Linked DNA regions of Homo sapiens: all the other regions are linked to region 1. The links are contacts of gene promoters, found by promoter capture Hi-C in human tissues and cell types (Jung and others, 2019). All regions are on one chromosome and are shown on one strand. The core of a region is centred on a gene start or on the middle of the fragment in contact, and the rest is flanking DNA. Distances in the headings are between cores, read along the strand shown.

The links. The method cuts DNA at HindIII sites, captures the fragments that hold promoters and counts their contacts. A contact is called where the count stands out against the background at its distance.
Region 2: a fragment that was not itself captured here is called in contact with the fragment with the promoter of ASTN2 in region 1 in 2 of the 25 tissues and cell types used here (H1 embryonic stem cells and dorsolateral prefrontal cortex).
Region 3: a contact is called between a fragment that was not itself captured here and the fragment with the promoter of ASTN2 in region 1, in 5 of the 25 tissues and cell types used here (dorsolateral prefrontal cortex, liver, mesendoderm cells and 2 more).
Region 4: a contact is called between a fragment that was not itself captured here and the fragment with the promoter of ASTN2 in region 1, in 1 of the 25 tissues and cell types used here (thymus).
Region 5: a fragment that was not itself captured here is called in contact with the fragment with the promoter of ASTN2 in region 1 in 1 of the 25 tissues and cell types used here (dorsolateral prefrontal cortex).
Region 6: a fragment that was not itself captured here is called in contact with the fragment with the promoter of ASTN2 in region 1 in 4 of the 25 tissues and cell types used here (H1 embryonic stem cells, dorsolateral prefrontal cortex, hippocampus and 1 more).
Region 7: a fragment that was not itself captured here is called in contact with the fragment with the promoter of ASTN2 in region 1 in 6 of the 25 tissues and cell types used here (H1 embryonic stem cells, bladder, dorsolateral prefrontal cortex and 3 more).

Annotation. Positions count from the first base shown.
Region 1 is chr9:117,413,405-117,416,795 of GRCh38, reverse strand. It overlaps ASTN2 (astrotactin 2), which reads left to right and starts at 1,739. Exons shown (of 23, transcript NM_001365068.1): 1 at 1,739-2,299. The coding sequence starts at 1,858. The HindIII fragment of the contact is 9,596 bases long and covers 1-3,391 here.
Region 2 is chr9:116,911,731-116,915,121 of GRCh38, reverse strand. The region is part of intron 10 of ASTN2 (astrotactin 2); the gene reads left to right. Among named protein-coding and RNA genes, the nearest start is that of TRIM32, 230 kb to the right of the region's middle. The HindIII fragment of the contact is 6,421 bases long and covers 1-3,391 here.
Region 3 is chr9:116,950,691-116,954,081 of GRCh38, reverse strand. All of the region lies in intron 10 of ASTN2 (astrotactin 2), which reads left to right. Among named protein-coding and RNA genes, the nearest start is that of SNORA70C, 230 kb to the left of the region's middle. The HindIII fragment of the contact is 6,986 bases long and covers 1-3,391 here.
Region 4 is chr9:117,031,298-117,034,688 of GRCh38, reverse strand. All of the region lies in intron 6 of ASTN2 (astrotactin 2), which reads left to right. Among named protein-coding and RNA genes, the nearest start is that of SNORA70C, 150 kb to the left of the region's middle. The HindIII fragment of the contact is 4,155 bases long and covers 1-3,391 here.
Region 5 is chr9:117,047,476-117,050,866 of GRCh38, reverse strand. The region is part of intron 5 of ASTN2 (astrotactin 2); the gene reads left to right. Among named protein-coding and RNA genes, the nearest start is that of SNORA70C, 130 kb to the left of the region's middle. The HindIII fragment of the contact is 3,251 bases long and covers 1-3,109 here.
Region 6 is chr9:117,098,141-117,101,531 of GRCh38, reverse strand. All of the region lies in intron 4 of ASTN2 (astrotactin 2), which reads left to right. Among named protein-coding and RNA genes, the nearest start is that of SNORA70C, 81 kb to the left of the region's middle. The HindIII fragment of the contact is 4,992 bases long and covers 1-3,391 here.
Region 7 is chr9:117,126,137-117,129,527 of GRCh38, reverse strand. All of the region lies in intron 4 of ASTN2 (astrotactin 2), which reads left to right. Among named protein-coding and RNA genes, the nearest start is that of SNORA70C, 53 kb to the left of the region's middle. The HindIII fragment of the contact is 3,091 bases long and covers 373-3,391 here.

The DNA of each region.
Region 1 (3,391 bases), core at 490-2,989:
AACCTCACAGGGAAGTAGATCCAACTGTGCTTATGCAGATTTACCTTTTACAGCATCTTTGATGGGTGGGGTTTTCCAAGGTCACTGAGGACAGTGTAATTTAAGGGAAACAGTCAAGGCTTGAAGCCTACTGTTCAAACCTCAGCTCTTCAGCTCATTTGCTATACGACCTTGGAAAATCCCTTCACCTCCCTGACCACCTGATCTCAGTTTCCTCACATGGAAAATGGGAATCATAATATCCATCTTTTTGGATTATGGTCATGTAAAAAAGCTAACATACGTACATGTCTAGCATTTGGAGAATGCTTTAAACACATTAAGTCCAAGGTCGCAAAACAGCTTTTGCTTTTTTCCTTATTTTCAGTGCTCTGCCTTTATCCAACGTTATTAAAAAATATATGATGAGAGAGGAGAAAAGCAATTTATATGAAGGGTTAAAGATAGAAAAGGGGAATGAGACAGAAGAGGGAAGAGCTAAGAGAAAAGTGAATGCATAGAGACAGCACAAAAGGTGCAGATGGGTAAGCTAGACAGAGATGAGAAGTTGCTCACAAATTATAGGAAAGAAGCATTTGTAAGATTAAAGTCAAGATGAGAAGGAAGGAAATGAATGGAGAGATGAAACAGAAAACAGAGACAGGGAAGATGAAGAAAAGTAGGGGAGTGGGGAAGGGGCTGCACGGCACTTGACCCATGCAGAGGTGTCCGCTCCCTGGAGGGTCTCAGGTATGTGGGTCAGAGACAGAGTCAGCCCAAGACCAAAGGGTGCTGAATCTGAGGACCTAGCTCAACTTGAGTCTAGAAAGACTGCAGGTGAAGAATTGGTGAGCACTCCCGTTCTCTGGGACTTGGGCAGAGGATCTAAAAGACCCGGGAGCCAAGGACAGACAGAATAGTAGGTCTCTACCTCACACCCTTTTCAGGAATTTCACACAGAGAGCAGAAGCAGCCAAGTAGAGCTGCTCCAAGCTGGGAGCAGGGATCCAAAATAAAAAAGCGTGAGTGGGCTGGCTTGCAGGGCGGCAGCTAGGGGGCCAGAACAGCCCGGCTTCAGTCAGTTGTGGGGTCGGCGTTAGACGGTGGAGTTCGACGCCCCTCTGTCCATTAGCAATTAGTGCTAGCACAAGGCCTGGATGGAGGGGAGAGGAAGGTTTGCGGGCAGTGGGAGAATGAATGCAGGAGTTGTGGCCAAGTGGGTGGGAAGGGGGCTCTGAGGCTACAGGAAGTTATTTCAGAGACTAGAAAAGGGTAGGAGATTGGAGAAAGGACTTGTTCTTGGGCCTGAGGGGAGACAAAGTTAAGTCTTGGCTATCCAGGGGGCTCCCTATCCCCAAGAAGGCGGGGCCTTGAGCAAGGCTGGGCCAAGGCGCGCCCCCAGGTGCAGCCTCTGGGTTGAGCCGAAGGTGGGGTGAAGCCAGGAGAACTGGGTTGAGTCAGGGGGGCTTGGGGGGGCCCGAGGGGGCCCTAAGTATTAGGAATTTGGGGAGTTTAGGGAGGGGTGTTGTGGCTAAAGAATGCTGTGAGGGCGGAATTGGGGGATCTTGGGAAAGGGGAGGGAGCCACTGGGACTTGCACGAGGCCGGGCGGAGCCTCCGAAACGCTCGGGGTCTGCGGGGGGAGCCGGAGATCGGGGACGGGCGGCTGGGCCCCGGGAGGCGGCGCGGGGGGGCGGTCCAGGGCCGATCGGGAGGCGGAGCCCGGAGCTGGGGGCTGCTGGCGAGCGGCTCTCTCCGCTCCTTAGCTCGGGCGTCCTGGTTCGCTTCGGCGTCCGCCGTCTCCGCAGCTGCCTCCTCTTCCTCCTTCGCCACCGCCGCCACCGCCGCCGCCGCCCGCAGCACCGCAGCCCCTCCCGCCATGGCCGCCGCCGGCGCCCGGCTCAGCCCCGGCCCCGGCTCGGGGCTCCGGGGGCGGCCGAGGCTCTGCTTCCACCCGGGGCCGCCGCCACTGCTGCCGCTGCTGCTGCTGTTCCTGCTCCTGCTGCCGCCGCCGCCGCTGCTGGCCGGCGCCACCGCCGCTGCCTCGCGGGAGCCCGACAGCCCGTGCCGGCTGAAGACCGTCACGGTGTCCACACTGCCCGCCCTGCGGGAGAGCGACATCGGCTGGAGCGGCGCCCGCGCCGGGGCCGGGGCTGGGACCGGGGCCGGAGCCGCCGCCGCCGCCGCGTCCCCGGGCTCTCCTGGCTCTGCCGGCACCGCCGCCGAGTCGCGCCTCCTGCTCTTTGTGCGTAACGAGCTGCCGGGGCGCATCGCGGTGCAGGACGACCTGGACAACACCGAGCTGCCCTTCTTCACCCTGGGTAAGGCTGGGCGCCGGCACGCGCTAGATCCCAAGGAACCCCGAGCCCCTGCGTCATGCCGGACGGGTGGGGGCGCCCTGGGGATCCCTGCCCGGGGCTGCCCCGAGTGGGGTTGGCAGAGGGTAGAGGAGGGGCCCAGAGGTCGCACAGGTGGTTGGAAACGAGCATGTGGGAGGAGGTCCTGGAGAGCGCGCGGCGGGAGCCTGGGGGCGTGCCAACCCTCCCGCAGTGGGAACCTGCCCCTCTGCCTCTCAGTCCCGACCTGGAGCTCTGCTTGATCCATCCCGGAAGCCGGAGACCCCATTCACTGAAGGTGCTCTGGCTAGGGGCCGGAGCATCCCAGATCCTAAGCCAGTTTCAGGTCGAGCCTCCCACTTCTCCGGGTACCGTCACTGGCCACCCGCCGTCACCGCCCCCTCGCTCTCGCCTCGGAGTTGCGGGTTCTGCCCTTCCAGATGGATTTTCATGAGAGTAGGAATGGAGTAGTTCCGTGTGGAATCGCTCAACCCGCAAAAGCGTGGCTTCCGCATGGGCTGAGTGACCTTGGCCAAGTCGCTTCCCTTCTCTGAGCCTCAGTTCTGGCCATCTGTGAAATAGGGCTGGAGAGACTTGAGTGGTTGCTGAGAACTGGGATTCCGACTCCGAGGTCTCCACGTTTAGAGCCTCCCTCTACCCCCGTTACCGCCTTCCCTTTCTACCCACCTCCAGGCAGAGAGCCGGTTTGTCCTTGCAGCTCACTCCCTGGGCTAATAATAATTACTTAAAGGCAAGAAAAAGGAGAGGAGAGGAGATGGGTGTGGGTGGGGGGCTCCAACGGAAAAGTTAATCAGAAAAGTTCGCCAGCAGCTTGCTGCCTGCTGGTTCCCTGCGCGAATCCCGGAGGAGTCGGCCCTTCAGTGGAGCTGTGGGAAGCGCAGCTGATTTCCCACCCGGGTAATTGATAGCTTAATTATCTCGGAGAGCGTTTACAAAAATGTTGTTCCCCTTAGCTCTCCCGCGCTCGCTGCTTGCTCGCTCTCCCCTCCCCTCTTGGGGGCGCGGGGCCTTATTGGTTGTCGGAGTCTGGCCAACAACAGCGCCCGTGAGGCGCCA
Region 2 (3,391 bases), core at 375-2,874, 500 kb after region 1:
AGAGAGGGCAGTGTGTTCTGTCAAAATGAGGCATCCCTAAGAAAAGTTTGCAAAGAACATCTCACATTTTGGGAGAAGGGGCTGTGGAGCTGCCCACTAATCCTGGGCTCCTCCTGTGTGAATTTGAAGGCTGAAGTATCCTAAGGCAGCATCTGGAGGTTGAATACCAGGCAGACCTGAGGCCAGAGCTCAGCTTCAGCCTTTACTGGTTTTATGACTTTGAGCTGGTGATTGCTTCTCACAGAGCCTTAGTTAGCTCATCTACAAAATGGGGATCCCAGGATCCACTTTGAGGTGCAGTGGGAGGGATTAAATTAGCCAGCGAACATTAAACCTCTCCAGAGTGCTCTGCCTTAGGAGGTGCCATTACTGCTGTGGCAGCTGCCAGTGACATCTGGCATAATTCTTGGTCCTGCCACCCAGGGTTGGGTGGCATAAATTCCTATCCTCTTCCCTATCTGAGCCTCAGATGTGAAGATCTGTACAGTGGGCTTCTCAGGACCACCTCATGAAGACTGAGATTGAGATTGTAAAAAAAAATATATATAAATAATAATAATAATAATAATAATAAAACACTTTACAGTGTCTGGCACAGAGTAGGACCTCAGCAAAGGGTCACTCTATTATTTTACAAATGCTGTTATTATTATTATTACTCAGTCAACAAGGACTGGGATATGCTCAGCTTAGAATTGACTTACATGACCAAAAGACTCAGGAATTAGATGCATTCTCCTGAAGTTCAGAGCTGTTGTCCTTCAAGCCACTGAAGTTCTATTTAGACCATTTATTCTATTCCCATTTTGCAGATGAAGCACTGGGGCCCAGAAAAGAGAAGTGTCTTTCTCATGTTCACATAGCTAGTCAGTAACAGCCTGCACTGAACCTGATTGCAGCCTTTGCTCTGCCATGCCACAGCAACTCTCCTTCAGCTTCTTTCCTGGTATTCAAGAACCTCGTCCCCATAGCACGAGTTCTTCTAGCCATATCCTCTGCTGCTTCCCTAACAAGACCAGCTCAGCTTCTCTACTTACTATTACTTAAAACATTTCCTATTTCCAGGCTCCACACCTCTGCATATGCTGTTCTCTCTATCTAGAATGCCTACTCCACTCCTTACCTAAGGAAACTATCATCAATCTGTTCCTTTTCTTGTCTTTGAGGCTCTGGAGCTAGAAACATACTCACAGAGGAATACCATAAGTGAATGTGAATTTTCTGATTCTTCCAAAGTCATGTGCCACCCCATAATTTCCATGAGGACTGAACAGAAAGGAACTTGGTCCATGTGGCTCCACTCACCTTCTCACACATGCCTGAGAGTTAGGAGCAGTATAGATTACTTTAATGACAGTATTACTTCCAACTGCGTCTCTCCCATCTGTTCTTCCCCAATTACGAATGCAGAAACCCAGCATGTGTCTCCATTCTGGCAGTAGAGAATGAAATATAAGTGCTATAAAAGGGAGTATATTCTTTGAACAATACAGTTGGCACCTGTGAAGCTTGCCTTGCATTTCAGATCCTTCTGCATCTTCAAGAGGGAGCTGGAGCCTCCTTTTAGAAAAGGCTGCAGCATGCCCAAATCATCCTTCCCCTTCCCTCAAACCCAGGGGTACTAAGAAATGACAAAGCCAGCGGGGTTTCATGGGAATCAGGAAAGAGCCTGGAGTTCTTGTGGAAATGGCTCAAGCCAAGGTGATGAGAAAACAGAATTAATAAGGGAGTCTATTTGCCACATCAAATGCACTAAGTGGGGGTTGAGGCTGAGAGAGATTAGAAAAAGCAGCCTCCATGGATATAAGCAGAATTTTGAAATCCAGAGGTATGTCAGGGAAAGTAAAAGGAGTGTGTTCTCATTCTTATTTTGCATATGAGAAACCAAAGGCTCAGAAATGTTAAGTTACCTGGATAAGGCCAGGTGTGGTTGCTCATGCCTGTAGTTCCAGCAGTTTGGGAGGCTGAAGTGGGTGGATCACTTGAGGTCAGGAGTTCAAAACCAGCCTGCCCAATATGGCGAAACTCTGTTTCTACTAAAGATGCAAAAATTAGCCATGTGTCGTGGCACATGCCAGGAGTCCCAGCTACCTGGGAGGCTGAGGCAGGAGAATCACTTAAACCCAGGAGGCAGAGGTTGCCGTGAGCCGAGCCGAGATCACACCACTGCACTCCAGCCTGGGCGACAGAGTGAGACTCCATCTCAAAATAATAATAATAATTACCTGGATGAGATCTCACAGCAAGGAAGAAGGAAGTGCAGGCCTGAGTTCAAACCTAATACAGTATGAAGTTGATGTTCTTAACCGCCATGGTACCCCCACTTAGAGTGAACCCACCTCACGAGCCCCAGCCACAGATGAATTGACATCCCTGCCTGCATACCCATGCAAAGCAAAACCCAAGCTTGCATCTCTTACCTCTGCCACAGCAATAAACAGGATTAGATGCAGAAAAGAAAATAACGAAAGGGCAGCCGAGTCCCAGATTTCAGAAAACAAATCATTCTCCGGATGAAATACACTTCAGGGGGAAGAAATCCCTAAATGTTTTATTAAAGGAATTCAACAACTACAAATATTAACAGCAAGGCTATGAATTATTTAAAATTCAACTACCTAAACCAGCCTATAAATTAAACATGAGAAGTTCTTGTCAGAAAGAGAGAGGCTGGGTGAGCTCCCACTTTCTTAGCACTGAGAATGAAGAAGGCGGACCTTGTGTTTTCTGAGCACCTACTGGGTGCCAACTGCTTTGCTTTTCTCACTTGCCAGTTGGAATCTGACTCTAAGCCTAGGAAAGAGATATTATGGGTTGCATGGTACAGTTGCAAGAAGCCAAAAGTTTGAGACAGAAAGTGGTTTCTCCACACTCACAGTTAAGTAATAGGGGAACTAAGGTTCAGCCAATGTTTGCATGGATTCAAAGCAATCTCTCTCCACTGTGCCAGGCTGCCTTGCAGCTGGAGGACACATGTAGGTGTAAAAGCAGAAAGCAGAGACCTTAGACACAGTCACATTGAATAGAGGAGAATAACCTGCAGATTCCAGTGCCCTGACCCATCACAGAGAAGCAAAGCTTCCTGGAGTTAGAATGCCAGGGAGTTAGTCACACACTTGTCATTGTTGTTGTTTCTAGGCAAGTTTTTTTTAACTAATTTTAGATTTATAGAAAAATTACAGAGATAATAATACACAGAGGTTTTGTTTGTTTGTTTGTTTGTTTGTTTGAGGTGGAGTTTCCCTCTGCTGCCCAGGCTGGAGTGCAGTGGCGCAATCTTGGCTCACTGCAAGCTCCCCACTGGGTTCACGTCATTCTCCTGCCTCAGCCTCCCAGACAACAGGCGCCTGCCACCACGCCTGGCTAACTTTTTTGTATTTTTAGTAGGACG
Region 3 (3,391 bases), core at 291-2,790, 460 kb after region 1:
CTGCTGTTATTAGAATCTCTGCTATTTTAAAAATAACACCAAGCCCTTAAAAAAAGATAAGAAAACCAAGCCCTGTGTAACCCGCCCAAGCTTACATGTCCATACATACATGGACAGGTCAAGGGTGTGAACTAGCACAAGGTTCTCTGTCTCTGAGCCCATTGTGTGACCCCTTCTACTCCACTGGACTTGATGGACAGATGACTGATGGATACAGATTGAGCTACAGCTCTGCCACTAATGAGCTAAATGACCTTGGACAAGTCTCTTATCTGCTCTAAGTTTCAGTTTTTCTATCCAAGAATGTGAGCAACTAACCTGATCACACTGTTGAGGCTTTAAACCATCAAGGATCAAGTGTTGAGCACATAGTGCAGGGCTTTGCACTCAGGAGATGCTCAATACAGGGAACCCATCTTTTTTGTTGTTGTTAAAAAAACAAAAAATCAAATATTCTTTAGGCAGCAGCTACCCTAGAGGACAATGAAACCTGTCAGCATTCTTGTTGGACAGCTGCCTGGTCTCTGTAATTCGGGTCCTAACCAGGAGCTAGAAAATTAACTTGGAAACTGAGGATGCAAAAATGAGTGTCTCATTCTGGGTTCCTCTGGGTCTCTCTGCCTTCCTCTGAGCAGATGCTGGGCTCCAGCAACACCTGGTACCTGCAGAACTCTCAGGAAATTGGCTTGGCTAGAATGTCTTAATAGCCTGCTCTCTAGCCAAAACAATTTGCAGTGGGAAAAGCAAGGGTTTAGAAGTCAAACAGATACAGATTCAATTGTAACTATAACACAACCTCTCTTTGTGGCTTTGGGCACCCCACTTAACCTTGTTAGGCCTCAGTTTCCTTATCAGTAAAATGTGATAATTACACCTTATTTTCAGTTAAGCCAAAGAATGATTCACTGCTGCCAAACAATCTCAGCTAATAAATGCTGTTATTTGCCTCAGTGGGTGGGGGAGTTAAAATCACAAACTGTCCTTTCCATAGCAGACATTTGCAGATCTATTGGGTCGGAGATGGAGAACTGGGAGTCTCCTCCACCCCTTCCTTTTATAATAGAGAAGCTAAGGAACAGAAATGACATGGCCTGGCCCAAGGTCGCACTGTGGGACAATAAGACGGGCCACCTGGATCCCTGTCAGAGGGTCTTTCACATTTTGTTAGGCTACATGTCAACAGCCCAGGTCAGCACAAATGTCCCTTGTTTTCAGAGTCACCGGTGGCTGAGCAGTAAGTAATTGGGCCCCTCCTCAAAGGCTGTAATCAAAGGCAGCCTTGAGCTTGGAGGCAGCTCCAACGGCGATTGCTCGGCTAGCTGAGGAAGAGGCTTGAGGCCAATATCAGCGGCCCTGGGCTCCTGACAGCAGGTGTGGATGATGAATGGGCAGCTTAACATGATGGAGCAAATTGATCATTTCATCACTGACCACAACTTATTCATTTCTGCAAAGACGGCAATTCATTACCCTGCATGTCACGCTGCCCATGTCATTGCCAGAGATAAAAGCCTGAGGCCTCACAGCCTGTGCCTCTCATCACATCTCACCTCTTCTTAAAGGGAGAGAAAGAATGCGGAAATTGAGAGCCAGATGCTCAAGGCTGCTCCAGGGCCCTTATTCTTGCCAGATCCTGGAGGCCATTTCTTCTTCACCAGGAAATGAACAGGAATGAACCCCAAGAGCTTCTAAGCCAATCAACAATAGCAAATGCATTGCATCTTTGAGGCCAGCCTTATACTCTCTGGAGCATAAGGCCGAGAAGGATTCTGTGGCTGCATGCGAGCCCAATAGGAATGAATGCCAGAATTGATTAGTCATGTCTATGGTAGGTCTAGAGTAAGTAGTCAGACATACCCCATGCATTACTATTCATAAAGTCGTGGTGGTGGTTGGGCTATTTTCTGCAACTCTCAAATCATGTCAAGTGCTCACTAGCATTAAGAATAAACTAAAAGGCAGTTACAAATACAGTAATGCAGTTATAATCAAGTAATGGAAAAGCTTACATATTATTGTGATTTTAGTCAATACAGTTGCTCTCAGCTATAGTGGCACAACCCACAGGCTTTGACCACATGAGTTATTGGGTAAGTCCCAAGAAATGTAACAACAAAAATAGTCACATTACTCAAGTTACTCTGATTTTTAGTATTTGAAACTATGGGGTTAGGTAAGTTGTCAGAAATGTAGTGCTAATAATAGTCTAATTACTCAAGTTTCAAAATATTTTGTCTTTTGGAGGGATTTTTTAAAATGCAATGGATATGACCTTAGAAGTAAAATAACATCTCCCACTTGTGTTTGGGGAATGTTACCTTGAGTGGAAGAGAGAAAAGTGAGATCATAGATAACTTGCTGGTGATTGCATGCTTACAGATCCCCTACTGATCTTAACCATGGTGCCTCCCATAGCTTCTGCCACCAAATACCAATACCACCCTCTCCTACTCATCTCTAGAGTGTGGCTTGCTTCCTATCTAAGGGAAATCTCTCTGCCTGACCCTGATCTCATGCACTTCAGTTTATTGAAGGACCTTGTTCTACTGATCATACCTTCCCTCTCCTTTATCTTTGTAGACTCTATTCACAGTCTATGCCAAAACCAAACCTAACTGACTTAACTATAAATGGGAACCAACTGTTCCACATGATTGGTGATGATGCTGTGTGAGAGATGGGCTCATACATGGCAGTATCTACAACCACAGATCTTTTTTTTTTTTTTTTTTTTTTTTTTTTTTGAGACAGAGTTTCACTCTTGTTGCCCAGGCTGGAGTGCAGTGGCGTGATCTTGGCTCACTGCAACCTCTGCCTCCCAGGTTCAAGCTGTTCTCCTGCCTCAGCCTCCCAAGTAGCTGGGATTACAGGCGTGCGCCACCATGCCAAGCTAATTTTGTATTTTTAGTAGAGACAGGGTTTCTCCATGTTGGTCAGGGTGGTCTCAAACTCCAGACCTCAGGTGATCCACCCACCTCAGCCTCCCAAAGTGCTGGGGCTACAGGCGTGAGCCATCACATATGGCCTAGTTCTCTCTATCTCTTTCTGTCTTATCTCAGTTCCCATCTCTGTCTTGACCACATTGTTTCTGTGTCTTCCATAGGTATGGGGCATGGGCACCAGGAGCTGTAGAGACACATTCTTACATCTTTAACATAAAGGAAACAGAAAGAATCTATCTTCCTCCATATGTTGTATAAAATTCCAAGGAAGGATTTGTTTTGTCCCAGCCAAGGACACTTACTGCAAAGGGGAATCAGGTGCTATGACTGGCCAGATCTGGCATGTACTATGGCCAGGAGGGAGGGTACTTACATATTAGTAACCTAATTTTCCCTATAGCCTTATGGAGTGAGAAAGAGGTAATTCTAGACATGAAAGGAAAAGAGAA
Region 4 (3,391 bases), core at 512-3,011, 380 kb after region 1:
CAGAACCAGTGAGTCAGATTCTCTGAGGGTAGAGCCCACATATTAATATTCTTTACAAGAACTCTCTAGGTGGTCACTTATCAAGGCTTCGAGAGCTGTGTCAATAATTCTTTAAGTGTTACTTTTTTTCCATCTAACATATGTGATCACTTCTTCAGACTCCTTGGAATCATTATAAGCATCTTTAATAAGGGTCTTTGGTTTCCTCCACCTTTGACTTTATCAATGCCCTACTAATGGAGCTGCCTCATAGCATAACTCCAGTAACTATCATTAGCATTGGATATAATGTGAGTGGTCTATTCTTAAGGTTTATAACATACTAACCCTGATCACACAGGTTTGGACCTCATCAAAATTGCCATGCAGTTAGCCTCATTGAGAAATAGTTATTGGTTAATATTAAACACCTATCTTAGCTGAGATGCTAGTTTATGCATCTACTGAGGTTCCCAATGTAAGTGGGCATATATTCACCCAATGTGGTCAGCCAATAGAAGAGTCTGCTTTTAAAGGAACAAGCTATCTAGGTGAAGTAGGTGAGATGGTTCCACTCCAGTGTAGGCAGGTAACAGTCCACCTAGAATTCCCTGTTTTGTTCCAAGACTTGTTATACATTGGAAGTTATTCAAGTGAGAGGATTTGGCAGCCACAAGATTGAAAAAGCACTGTAGATACCTAATGACCTCTTAAGGAAAGGATGGAAGACATTCATTCAATAACAAGCGTTGAAGGAACCTAGACAGGAAGGGAACCTACTATTATTGAGCATGTCTGTTATCTATTGAGTAGCACACAAAGCACTTTACACAGGGTTCTTCCTTCAGTTCTCATAGCAAAATTGAGAGTCTGGATTTAGTATCCTCATTTTGCGTACGTGAAAAGTGGGGCTCAGGGATGCTAGGTGGTTTTACGAGATTAACACATAGATGACGTGGTATGAAAACTTAAGCCTACCTGAGCCCCCAGTCTAAGGTTCTTCTATGCTCTAAGCTTCCAGAGAGGAGACCAGGATAATTATTATTTATTTTGAAGAGAGCAGGCTAGTTCTGGAAGTCCTAAGGAAGCAAAACTAGACAGATATATGGGTAATGAGTATGGTCAGGGATGGGAGAAGATGAAGCCTTGGTTTGGAAACGTCTTCCTCTACTGTTGACTGTGTGACTTGTGCTAGTTACTTAAACATTTTAAGCTTCAGTTACATTATCTATAAATTGGGGATAATAGCAGTACTTATAAAGTTATTGCTAAGAATAAGTGAAATAATGCTCATAAAGCTTTTAGCTCAATACCTAAGACCTAGTAATGGTTCAATAAATTATATAAATGTTAGAAGTAGTAATAATATTTTCTTAATATTGGAAGGGGGTCATTGCAGGGTAATGAGTTCCCCATCATAGAAAATCTCCTGAGAATAGATGACCACATTTTTACAAAGCTGTAGAAGAGAGGGGAAGAGAAGCGTTTGGTTTGAATCATGATATTTTGTTTTGGAGCCATATTATCAAACTGTAAATTTTAAAACCACTTAATTTTTTAGGACTTTTAGAATATGTTTCTTTATTCCTTAGTACTTCACACAGAGTGTCACCAATTCTTTGCGTAGGCTCAGAAATGGGTGAAAACAAGGGATGTCTGTGTCTCTTGAATATGTTACTTAGCTAAACTCACAGACACACACAATTTTATATATTGATATGATTGTTGCATCAAAATACCTATGCTAAAATGTCTTTTTATTCAGGTTATTTTAAATGGTTAACATCATCTTTTAGGTTGAACTAAGTTGATATCCAAGTCTTCTCTGTTCCCTATGACTGAGATATTTGGGATCTGAGTATGGCTTCTTAGCCCATGAAATCATCAAGTATAAATGCCCACACATTGGGATGGCATGGTTCACTAATATGCCACACATGTAGCTGGTTTTGAGCATAAAATTGTGAATAATAACACTTGTCTACATTTATTTGCTCTCATCCCTACTTGATGTCCTCCATCCCAGAAGAGTGAGCTAATGCATGACTTTGTGCTGTTAGAGAGGAAAGAGGTCCATAATTGGCTTCAGAACTAGTTTGCAGTGATTTGAATACATGGAAGGAGTATTTTCAATTCTTAGAAGGGAAAATGACACCACATTGTAAGTGGATCCTTAGCCACAAACTGCCAAGCACTTTATTTAAAACGAGTAGTTCCTTGGACATCCTGCTCTATGAAATCATCCCAGGCTTTGTTTTAAAATGCTCCATGTTGACTGCAGATCTTTGAATACTGTGGAACATGCTTATGGGTGGAAGTTCTGTACAATATGGCTTCTGTCTTTTTCTTTGTTAACTCATTTGCACAGCCTTGATGCTGTTTAGACAAATAGACTGTCCTACCTGGTATCTGCCTCTCTATATACCTTTGCTTGTACATTCCTCTCCATCATATATTTCCATATATGGCAGTCTCACCCATCTCTAAGGCATAACTTAGTTTGCTCCCTCCTCTAGAAAACCTTCTTCAATGAATCCTTAGAGACAAATAATATCACCTCTCATGAACATTACCTAGAATTATATTTGTGCCTTTCTAATGACTTCAGTCTAACTCCTATTACTGTTACTGTTACTGTTACATATGTGTCATTGAGACAACTGCCACAGTCCTGAAAACTGGCCTCCTGCTTTAAGTCTAGGCTCTCTCCTATCTTTTATTAACAATGCAAACAGAGCCATCTTTTACAATGAAAATATCAAAACATCGCATACATGTATTACATACGTGTCATACTTTCCATAAATCTGTTTATTGTCTTCTTTTTTACTTGTTTTGAAGACTGAACTTCTTATTGTGGCCTTTGCATCCTTGCAAGGTCAGGCCCCTGCCCGCCTTTCCAGTCTTACGTCACACCACCTCTCCATATATTGGCTCTTAAATTTCTCTGTTGCCTCCTGCCTCAGGCCCTTTGCACATGGTGTTTTCTTTGCCTGAAAACTTCTTCCCACATCTCTAGTTTCTCTCATTTACCCTAGGGTAATGCCTCTGTTAGCTCCCTTATGAATCATTCTCCTTGAGCCCTGCTTTTTTTCTGTATTATATTTATTTCAATGTATAATTTTAAATTTATCTAGTTAATGTTGTTCTCTCTTGCTAGGTTTCAAGTTCCATAAGGATAGAGATTACATTTGTTTTGCACATTATGTTCAGAACCTTGGACAGGATCCAAAACATACTTGATGCCCGCTAAAAGGCTTTCACTGAATTTTTTTGTAAAGTTAATTCAATGGTTAGACTTAAATTTTTTCAAGGGCAAGGACCACAGCTTATTCATGTTCTAACTTATTGTGATGCCTAACAGGGATTCTGACTCAGTAGGCATATAAGAAATTGTGTCTGTAAAAAACGA
Region 5 (3,391 bases), core at 235-2,734, 370 kb after region 1:
GGGTTTGTGGGCCATCAGGAAAAGCCTCATTTCTATTGTTTCTTAGGAATATGACACAGTGTCACTGTCAGGAAAAAGAGGTGAGGAGGAGGGAGCACAGAGATGTGAAAATGCCCCCTATTTTTAGAAGCAGTGTGACCACCATTAGACACCATACATTCACAGGGTCAGGATCAGCTGAGGAAGCTTTTAAAGAACTTTGAGTATCAATAGGTCTCGGTTCATATTCTAGCTCTGTTCATATTCTAGCTCTGTTCCTTACTAGTCAATTAAACCCTTTGATCTTCCATTTCCCCCAATGTCAAGTAAGGACAGCTTTGCCTGGTGCTTACGGTGGGCTTTTGGGATAAAGGAAGTTCTGTAGGTAAAGGAACATTGTCATGGAAGCTGGGAGCAGGGGAGGAAGCAGGAGTAGGGGAATAACGTTGGTTGTGTATTCAGTATTTACTAGGCCATCACAGGAGGCCTAGTAAATACTAAATACACAATCAATGTTATTCTCCTGCTCCTATTTTCACAAAGTGTGGGCCAAAGTCCACTGACATCTTCCAAGATAATGGAACAGGGACTTTCAAAGGAGCTAGAAATGAACCTTTCATGGAAATGGGAGGTGACTGGTCCTGATCGTCCTTGGTAGCCATGGAAACTGTGGCTGCTCTTTTGCTCTGTTCCTCAGCACTCACTGCTTGGCCTTAGCTCTTCTTTGCCACCCTCCAATTCATCGGTGGTGTGGGCTGAATGTGGTGGTGCATCTAAACAGCCTGTAGACTAACAGGGCTAATATGGGTATCAGACAACAGTATCTTAAAAATTAACATTTTGGGTAAGTCAGCACCAGTCGATTGATAGTCACCTATGAATCAGAAACCCCCCACCACCTTTCCTTTCTCCTTCTTTCTCATTTATTTCTGAGCCATTCTAGAGCTTTAGATCTTTGAATTATCTTCTCTACTATTTCTCATCTACACACTGCAATTTAATCTATTGAGTACAGCATCTTTTTCCTTCCACTAATGCATTTCGTCAGCCTGCTAAATATACGTTGAATAGTCTTTAGCCTCCTGAACTGATCTGTTGTGCCTACCTTTTTCATTCTTGCATGTATTCTCTGTGACTTTAAAATTCTATTTTCTTCTAACACTTGGGAAGAAGAAGGATACAGACATTGGTTTCAGACCAGACTGACCATGAAAACCTTCCTCTTCCTCTTCCCAGTGACCAGTTAAATCTGGTTTTCCTATTTGTAAATGAAGGGTAACCCCTGCCTTACAAGGTAGTTGAGAAGTTTAAATAGGATAATGTACATACAATCTTTAACACAGTGCCTGGCATAAGGGCACCAGTTGATTATTGGGCTCTGCTAATATTATTTACAACCTTTGTATAAATTATTAAACTAGATCGTTTTTTCCGTACCTTGTTCCACAGAATGGTGGTTCTGCAATGTCTTAATACTTTAGGGAAACATTCGGCTGAATCCTGTTAAACAGAATGTAATGCAAAGACTTTTAGGGATTTTAATACCAGATATATACTTGGGTGCTTTAAGAGGGACATGCAGAATATAGCATGTCTCAAAATTTTGTGAACATAGAAATATTTTCTTTTCAAGATACATCTGGTTTTGTGGGAAATACTACACTAGCTCTTTGAGGCATTTGGATACATTTATAAGAGCAATAACCATCCTGTGCAACATGGTGAAACTCTGCCTCTACTAAAAATATAAAAATTAACTGTGCACAGTGGCGCATGCCTATAATCCCAGCTACTCAGGAGGCTGAGGGAGGAGAATCACTTGAGCCTGGGAGGTAGAGGTTGCAGTGTGCTGAGATTGCACCATTGCACTCCACTCCAGCCAGGGCAACAGAGCAAGACTCCGTCTCAAAAAAAAAAAAAAAAAGCAATGGATGAAGAATCAGAGCGCACAGATTCTATTTCTGTTTTCATATCCAGCTAGTGGGACTTAGGCTGCACACTAGCAACATAGTGACATGAAAAGATCACTCAGCTGTGTGTCAGGAGACATGGCTTATAGGCCCATTATTCTTCTGTTGTTTGAACATGAGTTCACCTTTAAGACTGTCACTTCTCATTTGTCTATTGGGGATAACAGCAATGCCAACTACATAGGATTTTGAAGAGGTAATGAGATATTTGAGAATAATCTGTAACCTAATAAAAGCTAAAATAATACGGTACCATCTCTATCATCTTCATCTCTAACACCATTGTCAACACCTTGTAGTGACCTTTGCACTTGCAAGCCCAGCTACCTGCAGTTGCCACAGAGAAATTCAAATAGCCAGCCGTTTGTAGCCCCATTCCATGTCAGCTGCCAGTGGCTTTAACTTCACCAGGCAGCCACAATCTAGGCCTGCACTATAGAAACGGTCTTTGTCCCAGGACCAGAGCTAGCCAAAGGTGTTCCCCAGTGGCTTTGTCAATAATCATTTGGCTCCAAGTAGCACAGTGAGCTGCTTCAGGCCCATAGTATTTTCTGGGGCTGAGAAAGGAGGAGCGACAGCCCTTCTCATTTTCTTCCATCATTTTAAACTTTGTCCTTGTGATGGGGAGAGGTTCTCTTGAAGACATGTGGTCGGTATCAGGTGGGACAATGAGGCCACCACAAATTCACCTAGAGTCATCACAGGTCCACAGGGCAAGCTAAAGTCGGATAGCAGCTCAGCAGTTAAATTTGTTGCTTCTGCTCTGCCCAGGCTACATCTAGCAGGTTGATAGAGATATTGTGAAGGATGATGGTTAAGAGCTTGGACCCTGACATCAAATGGTTTTTCATTTCAGCCCTATTACCTTTAAGCTGCATGTTCTTTGGCAAGTGATGGCCTCAGTTTCCTCATAGCGAAAAATGTGAGTGATAGTAGAAACAATATCATGAAGTTTCTGTAAAGATTAGATGAGATACTGCATGCAAAAATTTAGTTCTATTGTCTGGCACCTAAGTTAGTGGCTATGTTACTAGTGATAGTGGTAGTGATGATGATGATAATAATAATAACAATTATTATTATGGCATCCTTTACTAAGAAAGTAATCTTAAGCAAAACAAATCTATACAAAGTACAATAAAAGGACTCAAAATATGACTTTAGAGAAACAAAATAAAGTTATTAGTGTTTGGTTTGAAGAAAGAAAGCTCAAGGCAACCTAATTTCCACCTTTAACAAAATAGCTGCCCTGGGAAGGAGATATTAAATATATCCTATTTAATTTGGACAGCAGAAGTTCACTCATAGAGTGAGATTCAAAGGCTGTTTAGACATTAAACTATCTGAGAATAGAACTGATGCTTAGTAGGGGTTGAGTTTTCTTTCTCTGGAAGTATGAAAATAAGAGTGGATGAACACTTGCCTAGATCTTATTAAGGACA
Region 6 (3,391 bases), core at 406-2,905, 320 kb after region 1:
AGGCTCTGTGGTACCAGAAGAACCAAGGGCCCAAGCAGCAAGGATAGAAAGGCTGCTGGTTCCAGCAGATAGATTACCTCTTCTTTTTTCTTGCCAGTCTCTAACCATTCTCACTTTCTCTCAGCCCCTAAATGGAAGTACGGGAGCAGCCCTGTGTAACTAATGGCTGCATTTTATTGCACTAAATCACCAATTTTATATTAAAATGCTAACAGAGGGGGCCCTTTTCTAGCCATCTGAATCACCTCCAAGTCAGACTGTAATTGGCCTGTGGCCCCTTCAGATTATATGGATACTCAGAGGCTGTATGCCTTGGGTGGCTGCCACCTCCCCAGGATGTCACAGCAGGCAGGAGAGTCAGGGGGCACCTCAAACCAGCAGCACTTCCTCCCTTTCATTCTGTTAAACACAGACAAGCATCAAGTAATTGAGGAATGTGCCCTGACTCTCACTTCTTGGTCTTTGTGCAGAATGTTTACATGCAGCATACTCTTTTCCCAATAATAACCATTGAGCTGAGTTCTTGTACCCCTTTTAAAGATGAGATCAGAGAGATCAAATGCCCTGTCCAAGGCCATATGCTAATAAGTGAATCAAAGAACTAGAACTCATGTCTGACTCCAATAACTTAATTTATTTCTACTGAAGTCCATTACTTCCCTTGGCTCATGGATAAACAAATATAGAAACTAACTAGACTCCAAGTGCCTTGAGAGTAGGGACCATAGATACTGTTGTTTAACAGAATCCCAGCTGTGCCATTTTTTCATCCAGGTCAAAAATCCAAATTGTTTTTTAAGATTGAACATTTTAGTGGAGGTCGTGGCTTATTCATCTTCATCTTGTACTCAGATCCTTGCCCTTAATTTGCTCAGTAATATTTGTTGTACAAATATGTCTAGAACTGTGTTCTCCAATATGGTGAGCACCTGAAATGTGGCTTGTCTGTATTGTGATGTGCTGTAAGCACAAAATGCATACTGGGTTTTGAAGACTTATGAAAAATATATAAAATACTTCGGTAATAACTTTATGTTAATTTCATGTTAACATGATAATATTTTAATATACTGAGTGAAATGCAACATATTCTGGAAATTCATTTGAACTTTTATGTTTACCCTTTTAATGGGGCTACTGAAACATTTAAAATGGCATATGTGGTTTGCATTATATTTCTATTGAATCTGGTTTATAGACATTGTTTCTGAGCCTCAGTTTTCACTCTGAACACATGGTACTTTAGTACTTACAAGAAGGGAATAAAGGTCAGAAGAGTTTGGAAATGGAGGCTTGACCAGAAGGGAAAGCCTTTATGGAAACCCTTATGGTAGTTATAGGGGTGTGGTCACTGTGCCTGGACATGTGGAAAGATGGGAGAGTCACAAAGATCTTGCTAAGCCTGATTAGAGTTCCTACAAGAAAACAGGTCCAGGTGTTGGAGTCAATTAAGAGAACTGCTAATCCTTAGTGGTCAACATATCAAGCATTTGCCAGCCCTCTACATCCATATGCATGCATGTGTGTGTGCACACATAGGCACAGACACACACACTTTCCCTGGTTGTATTAGGTACGAAGCAAGCTTTGCAGGTAGACAGACCAAATTTCAATCCCATTTCTCCCACTTACTACCTCGTATCACCTCTCTGAGACAGTTATTCATCTATGAAACCAAAACTCATGATACAGTCCTTATAGGGATGGCTGTGGATATTAAACAAAGTATTTGTTCATATTTTATTATAAACCAGCATTGTAAAAAAGGAATAGATTTACCCGCCACTGTCTGAATTTGAATCGTGGTTCTGCTACTTACAAGCTGTGACCCTGGACAAAATATTTAATTTCTACGTGCCTTCATTTTCTCACCAACTGAAATGGGAATAAATGTAGTAACCTATCTCCTAGGGTTCTTGTAAATATGAAATGAGTCAACCCATGTAAAGGCTTTAGAATAGTGCCTGGAAGAGATACTGCACTATGCAAGTGTTCGCTTTTCTTACATTAGAATTTCCTGGTGACTTTTCTGTCACTCTGTCTATCTTGCTCCAGTAGGGAAAGAATAAAGTCTGATTCCTGTAAGCCAGATTTGTTCACCATGGTAGGGCCATAACAGGTCATGTGTTTAGGATGGGAGGGAAGATAAAGTGGAGATTGGAAGGAAGGAAGGGAGTGAGAATTTTGCTGAAATGTTTCAAAGTGTGGCTATGGCATCCAAGGGGCTGTGGGAAGAGTCTTGGGTGGCCTCCTAACAGGGATAGACCCTCCTTTTTGCTCTGTGGCTCCAGACATAGCAGAGAGTATGGCAGATGTTTTCTGAACATAAGAGAATGACTTTATCAGATGCCTTCATTTTTTCTTTGGCCAAGAATTATGTATAGATGAACAAAAGTCTTCCTCCCTCCTTTTTTTTTTTTTTTTGGAGACGGAGTCTCGCTCTGTCACCCAGGCTGGAGTGTAGTGGCTTGATCTCGGCTCACTGCAACCTCCACCTCCTGGGTTCAAGCAATTCTCCTGCCTCAGCCTCCAAGTAGCTGGGATTACACGTACATGCTGCCACACCCGGCTAATTTTTTGTATTTTAGTAGAGACGGGGTTTCACCGTGTTGCCCAGGCTGGTCTCGAACTCCTGAACTCAGGCAATCTGCCCGCCTTGGCCTCCCAAAGTGCTGGGATTACAGGTGTGAGCCATCATGCCCAGCCCTTCTCCCTTCTTTTCTTTGTTCTTTCTTCTTCTTTTTTTTTTTTTTAACAGTAAAATATTTTAATGGCAATTTTAAAAGCCCTACTGGCTTCTGGGGACCTCTGCTCTCCAGTCACTTCCAAAATCTCCATGAGGTCCCTGCCAATTCCACTTCAAAGCTAAGCCTTTAAATGGAGAACTGCATCTGGCAGAATCTGAAATCTGAAGTCTCCTGATGTCTCCAGGCCCTGCTTTTAGTTGCTGGGGATTGGGGAAGTGTGCACTAAGGCTCCGGGACAGACCTTGCCTGATGACACATTTTGGGACAAAGATCAAATGTTGTCATCCTTTGTACTTTCCCACTCATTAGAACATACCGTCTTAAGGAAGGATGGGTGTGGGGAGGCAGATATTAATCTTTCAATTTTACAGAGCCTTAAACTGAGAGGCAGCATCATAAGTGGCTAGAAATTTGAGCTTGGGCATTAGTTCCACCTGGTTTCGAAGTCCACCTTCACTCATTATTAGCAAATCATTTTTCTTTTCTGAGCATCACTTGCCTCATCTGTAAAGTAGGCACAATGATGCCTCTCTCCTAAGGGTAGTATGAATTCGGAATGAGATGTTGTATACAAAGCTCTGAATGCTGTACTTAGCATCTTGACACTCGAAGGATGATCTGCTCTTTCAGGGTTCGCTCATGAG
Region 7 (3,391 bases), core at 669-3,168, 290 kb after region 1:
GAGGTTAAAAAATTTTCTTAAGAAGAGAGAAATTCTGTTTATGGATCTTGATGTCTTATAACCTCAATTTTCTGGCTTTGGCCATTTCTTAATATTTTATTTTATTTTCAGTGATGACTCTGCAACATTTAGGGCTAGATGTAGTTTAATTTTTATCTGTCTGAAAGTCGTTTATTTTACATCAAGGGGTGGAGATAGGGAGAAGCAATTCATGTGCAGATTTTATGTTTTTGTTTGTTTTTTGAGGAACGGAGGGAGGAAGTGGGTATGGCAGAGGTTGTGGTTAAGGAGAACATTTCTAGAAAAATGGTCACTGTCAATGCAAAGAAGTGGTATTTGCCTTCAATCCATATATCTCATATTTCTGCTTCAAATTGAAATTACCTTTACAAAAATTATGACAATGAAAGAAATCTGACCTAACCAATTCCATGTTGCTTATAACCTTCAAGCTGCCTGATACGTTTTGGCTCTGTGTGCCCACCCAAATATCATCTTGAATTGTACTCCCGTGATTTCCACATGTTGTAGGAAGGACCTGGTGGGAGATAAATGAATCATGGGGGCAGTTTCCCCCATACTGTTCTCATGGGAGCGAATAAGTCTCATGAGATCTGATAGTTTTATCAGGGGTTTCCGCTTTTGCATCTTCCTCATTCTCTCTTTGCCTGCTGCCATCCATGTAAGATGGGACTTGCTCCTCCTTGCCTTCCGCCATGATTGTGAGGCTTCTACACCAACTGGAACTGTAAGTTCAATTAAACCTCTTTCTTTTGTAAATTGCCCAGTCTCAGGTATGTCTTTATCAGCAGTCTGAAAATGGACTAATATGCTGCCCTTGTTCAACCCTAGGCATAGGCCAAGCTAACTATGGAGGAGTTTAGTTTATAGTTTAACTTTGAAACAAAGATGGCATCAACCCCTTTCTGATACAAACCCACTCCTTGCCTGGGGATCAGACCTCCTTTGTAAAATTAACACATTAGCCACAAGATTAGAAATTATGGCTCTGGTGTCATGCAGTCAGAGGCCACAAGATTCCTAACCTCCCCAATTGCCCTTATAGATAACATCGCTGTCATAAAACCTAAGATTAGTGTTTGAAGTATTTTTAAGACCTTGATTTCTTTTTTTTTTTTTTTTTTTTTTTTTTTTTGAGACAGTGTCTCACTCTGTCACCAGGCTGGAGTGCAGTGATGGGATCTGGCCCACTGCAACCTCCACCTCCCGGGTTCAAGCAATTCTCCTGCCTCAGCCTCCTGAGTAGCTGGGACTACAGGCACACACCAGCATGCCCAGCTATTTTTTGTACTTTTAGTAGAGACAGGGTTTCACCATGTTGGCCAGAATGTCAGACCCTGATTTCTGATGGACTAACTGTTGCCACACAGACCAGTAAACTGGCTTATCTGGTCTTGTAGCCCCCACCCAGGAACTGACTCAGTGCAAGAAGACAGCTTTCACTCCCTATGATTTCTTCCCTGACCAAACCAATCCGTGTTTCTTATTCCCTAACTCCCTGTTCACCAAACTATCTTTAAAAAACCCGGCCGGGAGCGGTGGCTCACGCCTGTAATCCCAGCACTTTGGGAGGCCGAGGCGGGTGGATCACGAGGTCAGGAGATGGAGACCATCCTGGCTAAAACAGTGAAACCCCATCTCTACTAAAAATACAAAAAATTAGGTGGGCGTGGTGGCGGGCACGTGTAGTCCCAGATACTGGGGAGGCTGAAGCAGGAGAATGGCGTGAACCCGGGAGGTGGAGCTTGCAGTGAGCCAAGATCGTGCCACTGCACTCCAGCCTGGGCAACAGAGTGAGACTCTGTCTCAAAAAAAAAAAAAAAAAAAAAAAAAACCAAAACAAAAAAAAAACCCTAACTTCTGAAATCACAGGGAGACTGTAATTTGAGTAATGAAACCCCAGTCTTCCATTTAGCTGGCTGTGCAATAATTAAACTCTCTATTGTAAAAATCTGCTGTTCTCAGTGCATTAGCTTTTCTAGGCAATGGACAAGATGAACCCATTGGGCCATTACAAAACCATGGAAATAAAGCTTTTGTCAGGGTATTTTCCGTAGAGAGAAAGAGCCTTCTCCAAATTACCTATGTGTGATCTAGTTATAAAGATTTGCAGGGAGCAGCTGTAACACCTGACCCCTTCCTGTATCTGTATCAGCCTTGCTACCTGCCGAGGGTGTTAGCCGAGAAACGCTGGTGAGCTCCCTTTCAGTGCAGTGTTGCGGAGCAACCTTCACAGATTGTAACATGGAGAAGGGTCCCAAAGAAATCATCTTGCGTTCAGGCAGAACTACATAGAAATAACTCCACAAGATCTAGAGAATTCAAGAGTAGGTAATTATACCAATAACTACAGCAACCCAGGATGGCTAAGATCTCTGATAGACTCTTTGGCCTCATTCTTAGATCAGCATCTGTGGTCCCAGCAGAGCTATACAAGTCCAAGTCAGAGCAATTATCCTGCCGTAGGATGATACCTTTCCAAACTGCTCTTTAGGGCTGCTGTGACTAATTCCCATTTCCCCAATTCTAGCCCTGCCTATTCCTTCTGTCTAAGCTTAACTACCTACCCAGGGTCTCCAACCTCACTTTCATTATTCTTTCAGCTGAATGTCTACTCAGTGTAAGACACTATGCTCAGCCCTGAGACTGCAATGGAAATCTAGACATATGAGGTCCTCACTTCTATGTAACTCAAGATTTGGAGAAAGAAGCAGACAGTCAATCAATCACTCACTCAAGCATTCAAGTATAATAATTACAGATTATTAAACGTTCACTGGAGTAAATTACTTTGGTGCTAACCATTCTAGTTGTCCACCAAGTCTGCAGTGAAACCAGTTAGGCTTCCTACTCCTTTGCCTTGGCTGGAAATACTCTCTTTAATTCCTCCAACAAAGATGAAACTATAGGAGGAATGAATCTCAAAGCTAGTGTCATGGTTTTGTTTATTCTACTTTCTAATTTGGGACATATATCTGATAGGAAACCACAATTATTGGCCATTTCTTTTGTGCTCTTTACTCTTTTAAGAGTAATGAGTTTCACATGTATTACTGTAACAACCTTTCTCTAACCCTTACTTTGTAAAAGAAATGGATGTTCAGAGACATGAAGTAAGTTGCCCAAACTTGCACAGCCAGGAGCTTGGAGGTAAATTTAGACCTGACTGCTTCCAGTTCTCCTGTACCTTCTGCTACATTGTAGCTGTGTCTGTTAGCAGCACATACCTCCAAGACTTGCATTCACATTACCTGTGTGGGATGTCTGCACATACATAGGCCTCAGAGCTTAGACTGAAACTTGACAGAAATAAGGCAGCAACAAAAAGGGTCCTTTACTGAATATCCTAATTACTCTGGTGGGATTCATA